2 separate regions of the Homo sapiens genome follow, and region 2 is linked to region 1. The links are contacts of gene promoters, found by promoter capture Hi-C in blood cells and fetal thymus (Javierre and others, 2016). All regions are on one chromosome and are shown on one strand. The core of a region is centred on a gene start or on the middle of the fragment in contact, and the rest is flanking DNA. Distances in the headings are between cores, read along the strand shown.

Region 1 (5,179 bases), core at 990-3,489:
TGCAGTGTCGCAATCTCAGCTCACTGCAGCCTCAACCTCCCAGGCTCGGGTGATTCTCCCAGCTCAGCCTCTCAAGTAGCTGGGATTATAGGTGCACACCCCCACGCCCAGCTAATTTTTTGTATTTTCAGTAGAGACGAGGTTTCGCTGTGTTGCCCAGGCTATTGATTTGTTTCTTGATCCTTTACTGTCGCAGTGTGGCCTTGTCCAGGTTGGTGCTCTGTGAAATTATCTAGGCGCAGTTGAACTCCATGGCCTCACTATGTGTGTCAGGCCAACTCCCAGCTGTTAGGGGCTGTTTTTCTCTTTCTTCCATGGAAAACTACACGGCCCCCTGTTGGTTTCCTGGCCTTCTCTCTCACCCCTTCTAGAGTCATTTTCCTTTTTTACACAGAGTCCACAGTGACATTCTTTACCTTGTTTTTATTGAAGAATAACATACGTCCAGTGACAGGCCTGAGTCAGTGATTCTCAACGTATCTGTACACACATGCAGCTGTCACCTAGATGAAGATCGTGGGGGCTCCTCCCTGTTGCTCCTTCTGGGGCCATGCCCTCCCAAAGGTAACATGTGTTCTGATTTCTATCACCACTGGTTAGTTTTGTCTGTTCTGAAACTTCATATATATTCAGTTACACAGTATGTTTTGTTTGTTTGTTTAAGGCTTTCTAAACTCAACACCAAGTTTTTTCTTTTTTTAAAATAAAATGAGATGGGATCTCACTATGTTGCACAGCCTGGTCTCAAAACCCCTGGGTTCAAGTGATCCTCCCACCTTGGTGTCTCAAAGTGCTGGGATTACAGGTGTGAGCCACTGTGCCTGGCCCCAACACAAAGTTTTTGAGATATGTTGCTGCATATATCAGGTGTTGGATCTTTTCTATTGCTGTGTAGTATTCCATTGGCCGAACCAACCACTCTCTTTTGCCATTCACTTCTTTTTCTTTTTCCTTTTTTAAAATCATATATCCTACTCTCAGATCCATTTACTTTTTTTTAATTTTTAAATTTTTAAATTTTTTTTTTTGAGACAGGGTCTCACTCTGTTGCCCAGGCTGGAGTGCAGTGGCGTGATCTCAGCTCACTGCAACCTCCACCTCCTGGGCTCAAGTGATTCTCCTGCCCTACCCTTCCGAGTAGCTGGGACAGCAGGTGCACGCCACTGCACCTGGCTAATTTTTTTAAATTTATTATTTTTTTTTAATAGAGATGAGGTTTCGCCATGTTGCCCAGGCTGGTCTCAAACTCCTGATCTCAAGTGATCCACCCAGCTCGGCCTCCCAAATTGCTGGGATTACAGGCATGAGCCACCGCGCCCGGCCTCCATTTACTTCTTGATGGCTAGCTGCACTATTTCTCAGGTTGATCATATTAGGAAGCAAATCTATTATGTCCTCCAGCTCATTTAGACCCTCTTAAAGGTTCTCTACTATTCTCAAAATTAATCCAAATCTCTTGTCGGGGCCTCTGATGCCCTGAGTGTCTCGGCCTCTGCCTGACTCTTTCATCTCAGTTCCTGCCCTTCTCTCATGGACTTCTGAGCTCAGGAGCACTGCTCTCCTTTCCATGTTTGAATGGTCCATCCTACCTCCTACCTCCAGGTGCTCCCACGTGCTGTTCCCTCTGCTTGTAAAGGGCTGTGTCCCTCTCTTGACCTGCTCTAGCTGGCTACATCCTGCATGCCCTTGAGGTTGCATCTCAGATAACCTCAAGGAAGCCCTCACCGACCAGCCCCCACTTCTAGACTGCACATCTCCTTGTATCACTACACTTTTTCCTTCAGTGTCTTAGTCTCTTTGGTAAACACCAATTTGTACGATTATTTGATTAGCATCTGTCTCCCCCATCAGACTGTGAGCTCTGCCAGGACAGGCACTGGTTCTGTCTTCATCTCCAGCATTACCTAGACCAAAGCCGGGCACACTGTAGATGCTCATTTAACAGTTACCGAACACTGAATGTCGAGTAGCCCCAGCCTGTCTTTAAGCCCCACTACTCTCCCACTCCAAACACACACAGACTTTCTCCCGCGAGCTGTCAGGGAACCTCAGCTCCCACCCTTTCCCTCCTTGGCAACTTCACAGGGCAGGGACCGCTCTCCCTTGGATGACGCGCCTAGGGGCGGGGCCCCGCCCCACAGCCGACGCTGAGTTGGCCCGGTTGGGCAAGGCTGGGGTTGCCTGGGGCGAGGTTACTCATCCTGGGCTCAGGTAAGAGGGCCCGAGCTCGGAGGCGGCACATCCAGGGGGGACGCCAAGGGAGCAGGACGGAGCCATGGACCCCGCCAGGAAAGCAGGTGCCCAGGCCATGATCTGGACTGCAGGCTGGCTGCTGCTGCTGCTGCTTCGCGGAGGTGGGTCTGCTGCCCGGAGAGGTGGAGGGGGTAGAGTGGGGGCTCTTAGGGAGGAGGCTCCTCTGGCCCCGTACAGAGAAGGCTGTGGGAAGGATCCCCACATAAGCAGAGGGCACTGTGGGCAAAGTTCCCCCATCCTAAGCAAGGGAGGCAGAGGGAAGGGTCCTCCACCATGGGCCGTAGGAAGGGTTCCCCACCACGGACAAGGGGAGCTGTGGGCAAAATTTTCCTATCCTGAAGCTGCAGAAAGAAGTCCCCTGTTCCTAGGCCGGGCGCGGTGGTTCATGCCTGTAATCTCAGCACTTTGGGAGGCCGAGGCAGGCGGATCATGAGGTCAAACGATCGAGACCAGCCTGGCCAACATGGTGAAACCCTGTCTCTACTAAAAATACAAAAATTAGCTGGGCGCGGTAGCGCGAGCCTGTAGTCCCAGCTACTCGGGAGGCTGAGGCAGGAGAATCGTTTGAATCCAGGAGGGGAGGTTGCAGTGAGCCGAGATTGCGCCACTGCACTCCAGCCTGGCGACAGAGCGAGACTCCGTCTCAAAAAAAAAAAAAAGAAAAAAAGAAAAAAAGAAAAAAGTGTTCCCTGTCCTGGGCAGAGAAGCTGTGGGTAGTGTTCTCTCATTTGAGCAGAAGGGGGCTGTGGGAAGGGATCCCTCACTGAGCACAGTCTACTGTGGGAAAAGTTCTCCCACACACTGTGGGAAAAGTTCTCTCATTCTGAGCAGAAAACCGTGAGGAGGTATCCTTCCTACCCCGGGATGAGGGGCTTCATGGCGGGGATCGCCTACAGTGGGCATACAGGGCTGTCGGAAGGATGTGCCCACAGTTGGCATAGTGGGTGTGAAGGAAAAGGGTCCAGTGATTCCCGTGCTTCCAGATTTGTGGAAAGCTTTTCCCTACTCCTGCCCTGGAAAAGTGTGTGCAATAAGACTGTCTAATCCCGGGACAGAGGGCATGGGAAGGACTATTTCTCCTTGGGGGTGGACGCTTTAGCAAGGAGGGCTCAGGTCTATTCGGCTCCGCTCCCCCAGGAGCGCAGGCCCTGGAGTGCTACAGCTGCGTGCAGAAAGCAGATGACGGATGCTCCCCGAACAAGATGAAGACAGTGAAGTGCGCGCCGGGCGTGGACGTCTGCACCGAGGCCGTGGGGGCGGTGGAGACCAGTGAGTGGGGACCCCCGGGCCACGCACACCACTGCAGGCTCCTCCGGCCCAGCCCCGCCTCCTTATAGTCCTTTCTGGATCTGGCCACGCCCCTTTAACGCGGCCCCACCCCTCCCTTTCAGCCTGGCCGGGACCCTACGACACAGCCTTGCAGGCCAGGCCTTCTCTATTAACAATTACAAGCGCGAGGAGCAGAGAGTTGAGAACTGGGTGGGGCGGACGGGGAGAGCTCGGGTTTGGAACGAGGTCACGTCCTATGCACTTTTTCTGCTCCACCAATGAGACCTCCCCATCCCTGCCTGTCAACCAGGCTGTCTCCTCCGACTCAGCTCTTTGAGGTTCCGCCCCCGTTCCGTGACCCCGCTCCTCCCTGCTTCGGTCGTTCTTTCCGCTCTGAGCGGCTCTTTGGGGGCGTCCATCCGCCAATTCCTGCCTGTCGGTCCTGTGGTGTTGGCCTATTTGAGGCCCCGCCCCTCCCAGACCCTACCCAACTCTGGGCCACGCCCCATCTGAGACCACGCCCACAGCTAATCCCGCCCTTGTCCCTCTCCCTAGTCCACGGACAATTCTCGCTGGCAGTGCGGGGTTGCGGTTCGGGACTCCCCGGCAAGAATGACCGCGGCCTGGATCTTCACGGGCTTCTGGCGTTCATCCAGCTGCAGCAATGCGCTCAGGATCGCTGCAACGCCAAGCTCAACCTCACCTCGCGGGCGCTCGACCCGGCAGGTCCGTGGGGGCCGGGCCGTAGCTGCGGGGGCGGAGCCACATTCGGGCCTGCCAAGATAGAGGTGGAGCCGTGGCAGAGGCGGGAGTACTCGACCTGGGCTGGGGGTGGGGTCACACTCTGGGGCGGGGCCAAGAGGCAGCAGGAGGGACTTTCTGGCTGTAGGCGCCGCGAGGTTGCGCGCTGGGGCGGGGCTACTAGTAGGCGGGGTCATCGATAGTGCCGGGGCCAGGCCTTAGGGGCGGGGCTAGAGGACGAGCTGCGGTTCCCGAACCCTTTCGACACCTTTTCTTCCTCTCGGCTCCCCTCGCAGGTAATGAGAGTGCATACCCGCCCAACGGCGTGGAGTGCTACAGCTGTGTGGGCCTGAGCCGGGAGGCGTGCCAGGGTACATCGCCGCCGGTCGTGAGCTGCTACAACGCCAGCGATCATGTCTACAAGGGCTGCTTCGACGGCAACGTCACCTTGACGGCAGGTGAGGGAGCCCCGGAGCACGGGACCTACGGGAGTTGTGGTAGCCCTTCTGAAGCACCCTGGGCGGTAGGGAGCCCTTTACCCAAAGCGTTTCCTTAACCTGCGACGCATTCTGGGAATCGTGGGGCCTAGGTGCTTGTATCGTAGGGCATCATGGAAAATGCAGTCCCTTCCCCCAACATATTAATAGTGTGGGGATAGTGATGCTTTGTCCCAGAGTGTTTTGGAGGGAAATGCATTTCCATAGAGGGCTGCCAGGTACTTAAGAGGTATTTAAGCCTCTAAGCTTCTGCCCAGGCACTGCGGGGAATCTCTAGTTCTTAGCCCTTAAAACTCAAGGGGTCCCCCGCCTGTCCCAGACTATTGAGAAATGTAACCATGGAAAATGAAGTTCTTCAAATCCCATCCCCTGCCAGTTATGCTATGGAAGATGTAGTTCTTTTTTATTTTATTATTACT
Region 2 (5,489 bases), core at 735-3,234, 330 kb before region 1:
AGGGAGGGGAGGAGGTGTAGGTGAAAGTGAAAGGATAGAGGGAGGAGGAAGAACGCTGAGACTGGAGGGAGAAGGGTTTCGGGAAGCAGAGCACGAGCCCCGATCCCGCCCCCAGGGTATCGCGCGCCGGTGACCCTGGTGCGGAAGGGCTGCTGGACCGGGCCTCCTGCGGGCCAGACGCAATCGAACGCGGACGCGCTGCCGCCAGACTACTCGGTGGTGCGCGGCTGCACAACTGACAAATGCAACGCCCACCTCATGACTCATGACGCCCTCCCCAACCTGAGCCAAGGTGCGCGGGAGAGCGGGGCTGGGCTCCGGGAGGGACGATGAGAGGCCTGGCAGCCTCGGGGAAGGCGTGGCCTCCGCTGGGCGCCTGCTCTTGGCGCGCTAGGATCCCAACCCCCGAGACGTGCTAGGCGCGGGCTCTGGCGCAGTGCGCAGCCCGCACGACTGTGCCAGGGTACCACTGCCTGAGTGTGCATCTACGCTCTCTTGCCAGCACCCGACCCGCCGACGCTCAGCGGCGCCGAGTGCTACGCCTGTATCGGGGTCCACCAGGATGACTGCGCTATCGGCAGGTCCCGACGAGTCCAGTGTCACCAGGACCAGACCGCCTGCTTCCAGGGCAATGGCAGAATGACAGTTGGTAAGGGGCTGGAAGGGTGGAAGGGCCTGGGCAAGGGATATGGAGGCAGGGCAGCCATGAGGGTAGTGATACCAGACAGGCCCAACAGGGAGACATGGCCCTGCTCTGAGGTGGGAGGCATGACCCTGGTCTGAGGGAGAAGGTTTGACCCTGGTCTGAGGGAGAAGATTTGGCCCTGGTCTGAGGGAGAAGATTTGGCCCTGGTCTGAGGGAGGAGGCATGACCCTGGTCTGAGGGAGGAGGCATGACCCTGGTCTGAGGGAGGAGGCATGACCCTGGTCTGAGGGAGGAGGCAAGACCCTGGTCTGAGGGAGAAGCCTGGCCCTGCTCTGAGGAAGGAGGCCATGCCCTGGTCTGAGGGAGGAGGCATAACCCTGGTCTGGGGGAGGAGGCATGGCCCCTGGTCTGAGGGAAGAGGCATGGCCCTGGTCTGAGGGAGGAGGCACGACCCTGTTCTGAGGGAAGAGGCATGGCCCTGGTCTGAGGGAGGCCTGGCCCTGGTCTTAGGAGGAAAACCTGAAGCAAGTCTGAGGACCGAGGCATGGCCCTAGCTACCAAGGTGAAGGTTCAGGTGCAGCTGTCTCCCTCAGTTCTGACCGTTCCTCACTGCTTTGCCCACCTCCAGGCAATTTCTCAGTCCCTGTGTACATCAGAACCTGCCACCGGCCCTCCTGCACCACCGAGGGCACCACCAGCCCCTGGACAGCCATCGACCTCCAGGGCTCCTGCTGTGAGGGGTACCTCTGCAACAGGAAATCCATGACCCAGCCCTTCACCAGTGCTTCAGCCACCACCCCTCCCCGAGCACTACAGGTCCTGGCCCTGCTCCTCCCAGTCCTCCTGCTGGTGGGGCTCTCAGCATAGACCGCCCCTCCAGGATGCTGGGGACAGGGCTCACACACCTCATTCTTGCTGCTTCAGCCCCTATCACATAGCTCACTGGAAAATGATGTTAAAGTAAGAATTGCACTCCTGTCCCTCTGGCCTTCCATCTCTCCCGCCCTTGTGCCCCACAACCTGGCCAACAGTACTGGAAGAAACTGGACACAGTCACCAGCATCCCCGGGGAGGGCAAAACAGCCATGTCGTGCCCCGATGAAGAGCAATTCTGATCACAGCTGTTACTCACTGAGCACCAGCCAGGCACCAGGCACCCCATAACACGGCTTCCTGTGCTCTCCCTCCAGAGCCTGTCGCAGCTCTAGGAGGGAGCTATACAATGATGTCTTTATTAGTGTCATCATGAGAAGCCCAATAAGCAGTATGCCCTAACAGTTAGTAGGCCAGGCTCTGGAGCTAAGCTGCATGGGTTCAAATCCCAGCTCCACCATTCAGCCTGCAGAGACCATGAGCGAGTTACTTAAGCCAGGCTCTGGAGCTAAGCTGCATGGGTTCAAATCCCAGCTCCAGCATTCAGCCTACAGAGACCATGGGTGAGTTACTTAAGCCAGGCTCTGGAGCTAAGCTGCATGGGTTCAAATCCCAGCTCCACCATTCAGCCTGCAGAGACTGTGGGTGAGTTACTTGAGCTCTCTGTGCCAATATTTTCTCACCTATAAGGTGGAGGTGAAAATAAACTCTATAACATGACAAGAACTACTTCACAGTAGTTGCAGTGAGGATTCAACGAGATGAACATTTAGTACTTGGGACACAGCAGTGGCCCAGTGTAAATGGGCTACTTGTCATAAGCCCTAAGTCACAGGTCAACAAACTGAGAGGCAAAAGCACTTGGTTGAGCTTGTGTATCTAGTGAGTATGGATTCAGGGACCAGATTCCCAGCCCCACGAACTGCTAAGCAACCCCACCTCCTAAACACATGAGTGCCGATTAACTTCACAGAAAAACACACAAGGCAAAGTTCAGCGAGGTGAAATTCTCCAAGCTATAAAGATCAGGGAAGACTTCCTGGAGGAATTCACCCTTGAGCAAAATCCTAAAGGATCAATAGTAGCTGGCAAAAAGAAGCAGGAGGAAGCGCATTCTAGGTAGAGGAGACAGCCTGGACAAAGGTCTGAGGGAGGAAGGAGCACAAGGAGTGCAGGACACTTTCATGAGTGCAGGACACTTTCATAACTGCATGAACTTCATAGAGATGGGATCCTTTAGCATGTTCTCTGTGCACATGCTTGACCATGTTCTTTCACATGCTTTTTGCCACTTGATCTTTCCAGCAACTCAGTGAGAGAAGCAAAAAAGTAAGTTGCATCCTGCTATTGTCTGAATGTTTGTGTCTCCCCAAAATTCATCTTTTGAAACCTAATTACCAAAGTGATATTACTGGGAGGTGGGGCCTTTGGGAGGTGGTGAGATCATGAGGGTGGAGCCCCCATGAATAGGATTAGTGCCCTTATAAAAGAGGCCCTGGAGAGCTGCCTTGCCCCTTCCACCACATGAGAACACAGCCAGCAGGTGCCTATAAGCAAGAAAGTGGGTTCTCACCAGCCATCGAATCTGCTGGTGCATTGATTGCAGACTTCCCAGACTCCAGAGCTATGAGACATAAATTTCTGTTGTGTATAAGCCATACAGTCTATGGTATTTTGTTACAGCAGCCTGAAGGGACTAAGACACCTTCCTGTTTTACAGACAAGATGCCCAAAGCACAGTGAGAGAGCAATTTTCAGAGTAAGTGCATAGCAAGAGTAGACTCCCGTGTCTTCTCGCTCCATGTCAGCAAGTAGACTTGTGGGAAGGGGGGCAATTCAGAAACACTCCGCTCCTATGCTCCTGTAAGGCCATGTGACAAGGGCTTCAGGTGTCTTTACATCCTGACATACAAGGGGAAGCTGGATGTCTTCATTCATCCTTCACATTTACTGAGCACCTACTATGTGCAAGGCACTGTTCCAGTTGCTGGGCATGCAGCAGGGAACTAAAGTGGCAAAAATTCCCACCTTCAAGGAGCTAGCCTTTTTGATGGGCTAGCAATCCAAAGCGAACTTTGGATTTTGCTTGTGTATTTATTAGAGACAAGGTCTCGCTCTATCCCAGGCTGGAGTGCAGTGGCACAATCAGCTCACCGTGGCCTCAATCTCCCAGGCTCAAGCAATCCTCCCACCTCAGCCTCCCTAGTAGCTGGGACTATAGGTGTGTGCCACCACACCCTGCTAATTTTTGTATTTTTCATAGAGATGGGGCCCCCACTATGCTGCCCAGGCTAGTCTCAAACTCCTGGGCTCAAGCAGTCCTCCTGCCTCAGTCTCCCAATGTGCTGAGATTACAGGTGTGAGTCACCATGCCCAGCCAGATTTTGGATTTTATTGCAAATGTGGTCTGAAGTTGGGATGGCCAGTTTGATGTGTCAGCTTACCTATGTGACAGTTCCAGTTATTCAGTCAAACACTAATCAGTGTGTTGATGTGAGGGTATTTCGTAGATGTGATTAAAGTCCATAATCAGTTGACTTTGAGGAAGGGAGATTGTTCTAGACAGTTTGGGTGGGCCTGACTCTATCAGCTGAAAGGCCTTAGGAGCAGAGATGAGGCTTCTCTGAGGAAGAAAAAAACTGCACCTATGGACAGCTGCTTCAGCCCATGCCTGAGATTCCAGCTTGCTCTTTCTGACCTGCCTAGCCAGGCCACATAAGCCAATTCTTTGCAATAAATCTTATATTATAGATTGTCTACTGGTTCTGTTTCTGTGGTTAATCCAAGACTAACACAGAATGTGTTGGAGCCAGCGTGGTGGCTCATGCCTGTAATCCCAGCACTTTGTGAGGCTGGGTTGGGCGGATCACCTGAGGTCAGGAGTTCAAGACTAGCCTGGCCAACATGGTGAAATCCCGTCTCTACTGAAAATACAAAAATTAGCCGGGCATGCACCTGTAGTCCCAGCTACTTGGGAGGCTGAGGCAGGAGAATCACTTGAACCCAGGAGGCAAAAGTTGCAGTGAGCTGAGATCATGCCATTGCATTGAAGCCTGGGCAACACACAGAGACTCTGTCTCAAAAAAACAAAAAAAAGAATGCGTTGGAGAAGTAGAAGGCTGCCATAATCATATATAAGGGTGTATGTGTGTGTGTGTATGTGTGTATATATATGTTGTATGTGTATATAATTATATGCACATATAATTACATGTAATATATGATATAACATTTTCATTGAGGTATAAAATATATACAATAAAATGCATAAATTGCAATTTTTCCATATGTACATACCTGAATAACCTCCACCTAGGTCAAGATGTAGAATATTTCCAGCCCATGTCCCCAGAGCCTCCCTCATAGCCCTTCAGAGTCAGTTTCCCACCCCAAGGATAACCATGACTCCAACTTCTATCACAGATCAATTTTGCTTATTTTTAAACTTCATATGAATGGAATCCTACAGCATGTGCTCTTGTGTACATGCTTTACATTTTAAAAGCTTCCCTGTGGCAAGAATGGAAGCTAGACCTGTGAGGTGGCTACTGCCCCAGTCTAGGCAGAGATGATATACCTAGGCAAGAGATGATGGCAGAGGTAGTGCAAGGAGTTGGAAAATGAATAGATTTTTTAAAAATTTAGCTTCTCCTTAACAGGCTGCAAGGAATAGGTTTTATTAGTGGAGAAGACAGGACCTGCTGATATATTGGTTGAGGAGTACTTGAGATGACTCCTAGGTTTCAGCCTGAGGAACAGGGTAAATAGGTTTCAGCCTGAGGAATGGGGAAAAAAGGAATCGCTCAGCTTCATAGTAATCTTTCTTCTTCTTCTTCTTCTTTCTTATACAGAGTCTTGCTCTTTCACCCAGGCTGGAGTGCATTGGCACGATCTCGGTTCACTGCAAACTCCGCCTCCCAGGTTCAAGCAATTTTCCTGCCACAGCTTCCTGAGTAGCTGGGATTACAGG

The links. Contacts are between HindIII fragments. The CHiCAGO score rates a contact against its expected background, and 5 or more counts as called.
Region 2: a contact is called between a fragment that was not itself captured here and the fragment with the promoter of LYPD3 in region 1, in 1 of 17 cell types (activated CD4 T cells). The highest score is 5.7, in activated CD4 T cells.

What each region holds. Positions count from the first base shown.
Region 1 is chr19:43,462,668-43,467,846 of GRCh38, reverse strand. LYPD3 (LY6/PLAUR domain containing 3) reads left to right here and starts at 2,239. Exons shown (of 5, transcript NM_014400.3): 1 at 2,239-2,354; 2 at 3,391-3,522; 3 at 4,078-4,248; 4 at 4,560-4,721. The coding sequence starts at 2,276. RefSeq lists enhancers at 3,487-4,018, 4,571-4,620, 4,651-4,710 and a silencer at 4,261-4,420. The HindIII fragment of the contact is 14,493 bases long and covers 1-3,250 here.
Region 2 is chr19:43,793,615-43,799,103 of GRCh38, reverse strand. LYPD5 (LY6/PLAUR domain containing 5) reads left to right here. Exons shown (of 5, transcript NM_001031749.3): 3 at 116-292; 4 at 503-649; 5 at 1,275-3,177. The coding sequence ends at 1,513. Among named protein-coding and RNA genes, the nearest start is that of LYPD5, 6.1 kb to the left of the region's middle. RefSeq lists an enhancer at 39-208. The HindIII fragment of the contact is 6,084 bases long and covers 1-5,026 here.